Regions from separate parts of the Homo sapiens genome. Here region 1 is linked to region 2. The links are contacts of gene promoters, found by promoter capture Hi-C in blood cells and fetal thymus (Javierre and others, 2016). All regions are on one chromosome and are shown on one strand. The core of a region is centred on a gene start or on the middle of the fragment in contact, and the rest is flanking DNA. Distances in the headings are between cores, read along the strand shown. Region 1 holds the start of EMC2 (ER membrane protein complex subunit 2). Region 2 holds the start of ASPH (aspartate beta-hydroxylase).

Region 1 (3,579 bases), core at 264-2,763, about 47 Mb before region 2:
GTAAGGTCCAATTACTCAGTTAAATCACCTTGTCTGTTGGTAGTATACAGCTACTCGTCCCTCAGGATTTTATATATGCTACTATCATCTAGGAAACCTATAATGAACATACCTTCATAATAGCATTTTCTAAAAATTATGTAATATTTAAAACATTTTTTAAAAAGCATTAAAAATAACATCCATTTATCTACGACTCAGCTTACGGAAGATACCCTGACACAAGCCTTTTAAAACTGTGTGTTTACAGGTTTGTTTTCTCCATTAGATTGTGACTTCCTTGGAAGTGGGGACTGTGTGTTGACAGAGCCAAGATTTTGCAGTAAGAAATCAACACTGTTGTTTAATATAATGGAATCCCTCAATTCAGGTATAAATACTGAGATTCACAACGTGCTAGAGGCCATAAAGTCAATAAATCATTTAATTCAGTTCAAGTACAAAGAAATTTTGCTTTATTTGTAACGGATTTACAACTTTATAATAACTGATATATTTATTCACGATAAAACAGAAAATACAACTTTCGGTCCACATGTTTTCAGGTCATTATTAAAACATCCCAAGAAGGCATTCGTTAAGCAAATTAGCTACTGAAGTCTCCTGTATTATGTTAAATGCTGGGAATATGAATTCCAATTACACAAATTCCACGCCTTAATGAAACTCAAGTTTCTTAAGCACACAGAATTGATCCAAGGTTTGGCTGTTCCCAGATTTAAAGAACATATCCCACTCTAGATCAACTAAGGATAGGGAAAAGTGACCATCACACGTAAGCACTTACGTAGCCCAGAGTTAATTAGTTATTTTTCCCTTCAGAAAAGAAACTACTAGTAGGGAGTAAGAAAGAAGTTGTGTTGTGTGTGTAAATGTGTTTTGAGAAGGAGTGGGACAGAGACTAGACTAAAAGGAAAAGAAACTGGAAACCCGGGTTTAAGAAGAAAACTAAATGTAGAGTGGCATATGAGAATCACATTTGTTCACGCATCTTTTACACAGCTTTTCTGCACAGAGCTGTAATCCTTACACACCACTTAGTAAAGGGCCTTACAGGCCCTGTGTTTCTTGGCTCCAAAGAAGCTTCAGTAACCACCTATTCCGCCTCTTCCGCACCGCCCAGCAACCAGTTAGCGTGCGACAACCCCAGCCCCAAGTCCCTCCCGCCCGCCTCATAAATAAAAGCGGCCCCGGGACGCTGGACTGGCGCGGAGGAGGGCAGGTCAACCGAGGAGCAGACACCGTGGGAAACGCTGCAGAGTACGCGTCCGGGCCAAGGGAAGGGTCAGCCTCAGCCTCCACCTCAGCTTGGCCCGTACAGTGAGGGCTCTGGTACCAAAAAGACACCAGAGAACCCAGCTCCCCGAAAGCAGCGGGTACTCCCGAACGGCTTCCCAGCGCTTTTAGTCTTTCCGCACCCGCCCCCACCCGAAGTTACCTTCCCAAGTGACATCGTAAAGCTCTGAGACCTTCGCCATCTTCCCAGAACCTAGAGGCAGCGGGGTGAGAGGGCGGGGAGACGCAGTCACGTGACCCGCCACCGGGCGGTGGAGAGTTACGTAGCTTTTTCTCATTGGCCAAGAGAGCAGAGGGGGCGGTATCCGCCACGCACGTGCACGCGGCTCTGCGGAGGGGCTTTCGGGGAAGGGGGCGGAGCGAGCTGGGCGGAGCGAGCTGGACGGTGGACGGAGCTAGGTGGGCGGTGCGTGGCGCTCCCGCAATCTCAGGATACCCTGGCTGCTGGCGGGGCTACGGTGCTGGCTCGGGGTGAGGTGTGTGTGTGTGTTGACGTGGATTTTTAACAAATGCTGGGTTTTTAGTGTCCGTCAATCCTGGCTTTTCAGTTTTTTCTACCTAGGCTTGTTCATTCTCTTCACACTCCCTTAAGTACCCTTATTCTCTTCATGGCCGGCCGCAGTGCAGCCTTCTGCACGAATCCCTTATTTGTCCCCAACTTTCCTCCTTCCGTAATGGGATTTGCTTTCCGTTCACTTTTTAATCGACTAAACGGATAAACTCCAAAGTTTTGAGAGACTAAGTGGGATTCTTCCTTTGCGCTCTGAAGTTCCCTTGAATGCCCTCGCGCTAGCTTATACCCTTCATTAACGCTCGTCGTGCCTGTCATTGCTTCATCCATGTCTGCATGCCACACTAGGTTTCAAACTGTCGCGAGTATGTAAGTACTTATAAGGAATGAATGTACGAATGAGACCTTCACAGTTCCTGAACTTCGCTCCTCATTACTCCTGGGTGGATGGGGGAGCCTCCTTTCCCACCAGACTAATTGCTTTTAGGAAACTTTGGACGTCATCTCCTAGACTTAAGGAGAAATGTCTGGACAGGAAGTAAAAAATTTGAGGATGATAAGCGTATATTTAGTATTTGAAGCAATGGGGACATGAGATTGTAGAGGAAATATGTAAGCTGAGAAAAAACTAAAAATCACTGCAATGCAGCCGAAAGTTATTGGTCAGTAAAGAAGGGGCAGTTGATTTGAGAAGTAGAAATAATACTATCCCACAAGTCAAAAGAGTGGAGGGTTTTTTTTCTCAGCTTTATTGAGGTGTAATGGACAAAAATTGTGTATATTTAAGGTATACAAAGTAATGATTAGATGTAAATATACACTGTGAAATGATTACCACAAGCAAGCTAATTAACACATCTATCACCGTACATATTTCCTGTGTGTGTGTGTGTGTGTGTGTGTTGAGAACACTTAAAAATCTCTCAGCAAACTTCAAAGTATACAATACAGAATTATAACTGTAGTCACCATGCTGTACATTCGATCTCCAGAACATATTCATCTTACAACCAAAAGTTTGTACTATTTGACCAACATCTCTCCATTCCTCACCTGTCGGCTCCAGTCAACCGCAGAGGTTTTTTTGTTTGTTTGTTTAAAAAAAGGAAAAAAACCATCAAACCATAGACCCCAGAGAAGTCACTTAACAACAGAGAAGACTAGTGAATGTATATACTTGGATTCAATTCTGAATGAGCTGGCATTCTTTCTAAACAGACTTTTTAAAAATCTTTCATTCAAAAAGTTAAAAAATACTCAGAAATTCACATATTTTAATGCTCCAGTAAAGCAACCTGGTGCAATAGGAAGAACAAGAACTCCCAGATCTGAATCCAGGCTCTACCTTTCAGTAGCTGGGTGACTTTCAGCTTATTTCTCTCTAAACATCAAAAAGGCTCATATATAAAAATCTAATAATATGTGTGTAAAAAGAAAATAGCTACCTTGTGTTGTTAATCAAGATAAAAACAGATGCTGCAGCTAAAGCCCCTGCGTGGCACTCTCATGGAGGTACCATCCTATGTCTAGAAATACTGTTTATATGCTGATCAGTCCCAAACTGATAAACCTTCCCAAAACCCAGTCTGGTTGCTTGACGTACTCAGATAGCTAGCTGATACGCATCTCAAAGTTAACATATCCCACACAGAACTGCGGATTCCTGCTGTCACCTTCCGCATTCCCACCTTGTTTTTCCCTGTCATAGGTGAGGAAACCATTTACCTAATTGCACAAGTTAAAATTACAGGAAGTACCTTTGATTCCTTTTT
Region 2 (3,646 bases), core at 937-3,436:
GACTTGCATGGGCCCTGTAACCCCGCTGTTTTGGCCAATTTCTCCCATTTGAAATGGCTGTATTTACCCAATACCTGTACCCTCATTGTATCTAAGAAGTAACTAGCTTACTTTTGATTTTACAGGCTCTTAGGTAGAAGGGACTTGCCTTGTCTCAGATGAGACTTTGGACTGTGGACTTTTGGGTTAATGCTGAAATGAGTTAAGGCTTTGGGGGACTGTTGGGAAAACATGATTGGTTCTGAAATGTGAGGGCATGAAATTTGGAGGGACTGGGGCAGAATGATATAGTTTGGCTGTGATCCCATTCAAATCTCAACATCAAATTGTATCTCTCAGAATTCCCATGTGTTTTGGGAAGAACCCAGAGGGAGGTAATTGAATCATGGGGGCCGGTCTTTCCTGTGCTATTCTCGTGATAGTGAATTAATTCTCATGAAACCTAATGGGTTTATTGGGGGTTTCTGCTTTTACTTCTTCCTCATTTTCTCTTGCCACCTCCATGTAAGAAGTGCCTTTCACCTCCTGCCATGATTCTGAGGCCTCCCCAGCCATGTGGAACTGTAACTCCAATTAAACCCCTTTTTCTTTCCAGTCTGGGATATGTCTTTATCTGCAGTGTGAAAACGGACTAATACAGTGACCCTACTTTGTTTTATCTCTCTGAGCTTCCAGTATCTAATTTCTTTAAAAAATTGATATGACTACAGGGTTTTGTGAGAATTTAAGGGTAAAAATATCTTTGGTGTGGGGGGTGGGGGGTGGCTAGAGCATTGTGTTTTGAAATTTAGCTCTCATTTTTATTTTATATGAAGCACCATCACTCAGATTTATTTCTTAATCCAGTTCTCCACCTCCTTCATTGAGATAATATAATAGAGGGTTGTAAGGGGGCCCTGAATGGGAGAAAGGATATATGGATGCAGAAGGAGATGCCACAAGATAAAAGCTGAGAGAGCTACTTCAATAAAAACTCTGTGAACTCTCCCCTCCCACCGTCTCTTGATAATAGCCTAACACTATTTGACAAAAGGTAAAGAAAGGCATTCTCTTTATTCTGCAACATGACCTTTGGGGGGTTTCTGTGCATCATCAGGGCAGGGTCAAGCAGCATCCAACCATCCACAGGTGAAAAGGCATGGGGCCGGGGGGAGGCGGGAGTGCTTCTGAAGGCGCGGGTGGGTGGGTTTGTGGGGCTGGAAAAGAGGAATGAAACCAGATGCCACAATGCAACTGCTCTCTCTGGTCCCTGAGCCCTCCTGAGACACTCCCAGGGGTTGCTACGAAACATGATCAAGAGCTGTGGGTTCAGCAATTGACAGAAATGTATCAAATCACTAAGCATTTCTTGCTTGCCTGTTACACATTGGGCATGGTGTTAGCAATGGTGACACAAAGATGATAAAGACGTCGCTGATCTCAAGTCCTTGTCTGGTTCAACCACGTGCCAAGACATTTTAATACTCTGTTGGGAATTCTCAGGCAGCACAGGCCCAGGCGTTAGCAAAGCAGCCAGGGATTTCAGACAGAGGGTGCCATCCAGGGTAAGAAAATGAACTTTTTGTGTCACATTTGCATTTTCATTCCTTAACTAAGAGTATCTGAAAATACTGATGGCACAAACGAACTAAATTCCTGCTTCAGCACCAAATGGATGAACTACTACGGTTTAAGCATTGAACTAGTCCTAATATCACCATTCCAGAAATGTCTTAGTATTAATCAGGACAAGAAATAGGGATCTCTTTCGCAAGAAGCGAGACTGCACTCCTTCCTTTCCTTGTATACGGAAAGGGGACAAAATCCACAGTGAAAGGCCTAGAAGCGGCGCACTCCGCCCACGGGCGGCCCACGTGTCCACCTATTCCGCACCGCGCCCTGTCCCATCCCTATGGAGCGGGGTCTGCCAACGCTCGCGAGAGCCCTCTCGGCTTCCACGTTTGCCACGTTCCAAAGGACCGAGACAAACTGGAAAGCCGAAAGAGGCTCGCGCTCACAGGCAGCTGCGTAGCGCCCGAACAGCCCTAAGTGAGCAGGGGCGGGGAGCGCGGCAGGGTACCGCCGCCTCGTAAGGGCCCTTGCGATTGGGTCCCAGGCGCCGTCACTCAGCCTTCCGGGGGCGGGGCGAGGCCGGGAAGGGGCGTGGCCGTCGGGCGGCGAGCCGCGCGCTCTCGCCCCGGGAGGGAGTCACAGGTTCGTACACGCGAGGCCGGGCGCGCGCAGCCGGCAGGCGGGTGAAGTCTTCCCAGGTGCTGCAGGCGGTGCTGAGGCACAGGGTCTGCTGCAGGAGCAGCGGCCCGAACCCGCTCCAGCGGCCCGCCGCCGCCAGCGGTTCCCGCGTCGCGTGTGTACCCCCGCGCACTGAAGGAGGTCCGCCAGCCCTCACCAGCCCCCGCGGACCGTGCAATGGCCCAGCGTAAGAATGCCAAGAGCAGCGGCAACAGCAGCAGCAGCGGCTCCGGCAGCGGTAGCACGAGTGCGGGCAGCAGCAGCCCCGGGGCCCGGAGAGGTCAGAGGCCCTGCGGGGCGGGGATCTGGGGCCTCGCCTCGGGGTAGGGAGCCGGCTGGCGCGGCGGACGCTGCGGGTGCATCTCCCCAGGTCCCACCGCGCGCCGCCTCCATCCCCCGCGACGCTCCTCCTTTAGGCGCGCGGGGCGGAGGCCGCATTCGGCGGGCCTGGCGGGCGGGCGAGGGGCCAGGCGGACCGGGGTCCGAGCCCTCGGGATGCTAGTCTCGGGGAGCCCCTTCCCAGCGGTTCCTTCACCTGCAGGGCGCAGCCGAGACAGAGGTTGCTGAACGACTGTTTCTTGGCTTTCCGTGGAATTGAACATGGGAGTAAGAGAACAATTTATCGTTTGCCTTGCGTGTTTTGGGGAGTTGAAAATGAGCCAAAGTCAGGGAAAGTGAGTTCCTGCCTAACCAGCAGCGTTTCAGAGCAACTCAAAGGAGGTGAAAATGGGGGCGCCGGGGGGCAGGGGGAGGGAAGAAGTTGGGAGTGATTTGAATGCTCTCAGAAATTATTTTAAATATTTTTGCTTGTATGTAGCTTTCTTAATATGCGTTGCAGTTGCCTTTAAAATAGAATGTCATGAAATACTGAACGAGCGTCTGTATTTTTACCACTTTTACTTAAAATAAAAATCGATTGGATATTCACCTTTCTCCTCGTCCGTGTGCATATCCAGCAGAGAGAACAGATTTTTAAATCTGTTTCGTCTCATATTTCAGTGATTCTTGGTTTCTTTTATACTTCCTTTGACTCATATTTGGGATATTGAAACTGCAATACACATGTGTATGGAATGTGAGCTGTAAACTTCACTTGAAGTGATTTAGACTCTTTGTTTTCTGAGATCTTCAGATCATGCATTCATAATATACCAAGAAAATGAATCAGCTATAGTCAAAGAAGTATTTTCTTTATAGCACTTGTCACTATCTGAACTTGTCTTATTACTTTCATGTGTGTTGTCTTTGGCTCATTCTCTCTGTATCCCCAGCTCCTAGAATGTTCCTTTCCCATAATAGGTGCTCAATAAATATTTGAGTAGTGAATGAATGAATGGATTTAAATGGGGAAAGTAGTGCATTAAATCCATTGCACAAATTTACATTCTAAGGACTAATATTTGTATTCTAAAAGTAA

What was found. Contacts are between HindIII fragments. The CHiCAGO score rates a contact against its expected background, and 5 or more counts as called.
Region 1: the fragment with the promoter of EMC2 here is called in contact with the fragment with the promoter of ASPH in region 2 in 1 of 17 cell types (non-activated CD4 T cells); the score reaches 10.1 in non-activated CD4 T cells.

Annotation. Positions count from the first base shown.
Region 1 is chr8:108,441,558-108,445,136 of GRCh38, reverse strand. EMC2 (ER membrane protein complex subunit 2) reads right to left here and starts at 1,513. Exons shown (of 11, transcript NM_014673.5): 1 at 1,439-1,513. The coding sequence starts at 1,478. It overlaps LOC105375704 (a long non-coding RNA gene), which reads left to right and starts at 1,665. Exons shown (of 3, transcript XR_928530.4): 1 at 1,665-1,767. RefSeq lists a silencer at 1,560-1,679. The HindIII fragment of the contact is 5,303 bases long and covers 1,086-3,579 here.
Region 2 is chr8:61,713,132-61,716,777 of GRCh38, reverse strand. It overlaps ASPH (aspartate beta-hydroxylase), which reads left to right and starts at 2,186. Exons shown (of 25, transcript NM_004318.4): 1 at 2,186-2,509. The coding sequence starts at 2,407. It overlaps MIR4470 (microRNA 4470), which reads right to left and starts at 1,990; the gene lies at 1,919-1,990. RefSeq lists silencers at 1,977-2,346, 2,387-2,816. The HindIII fragment of the contact is 6,840 bases long and covers 1-3,646 here.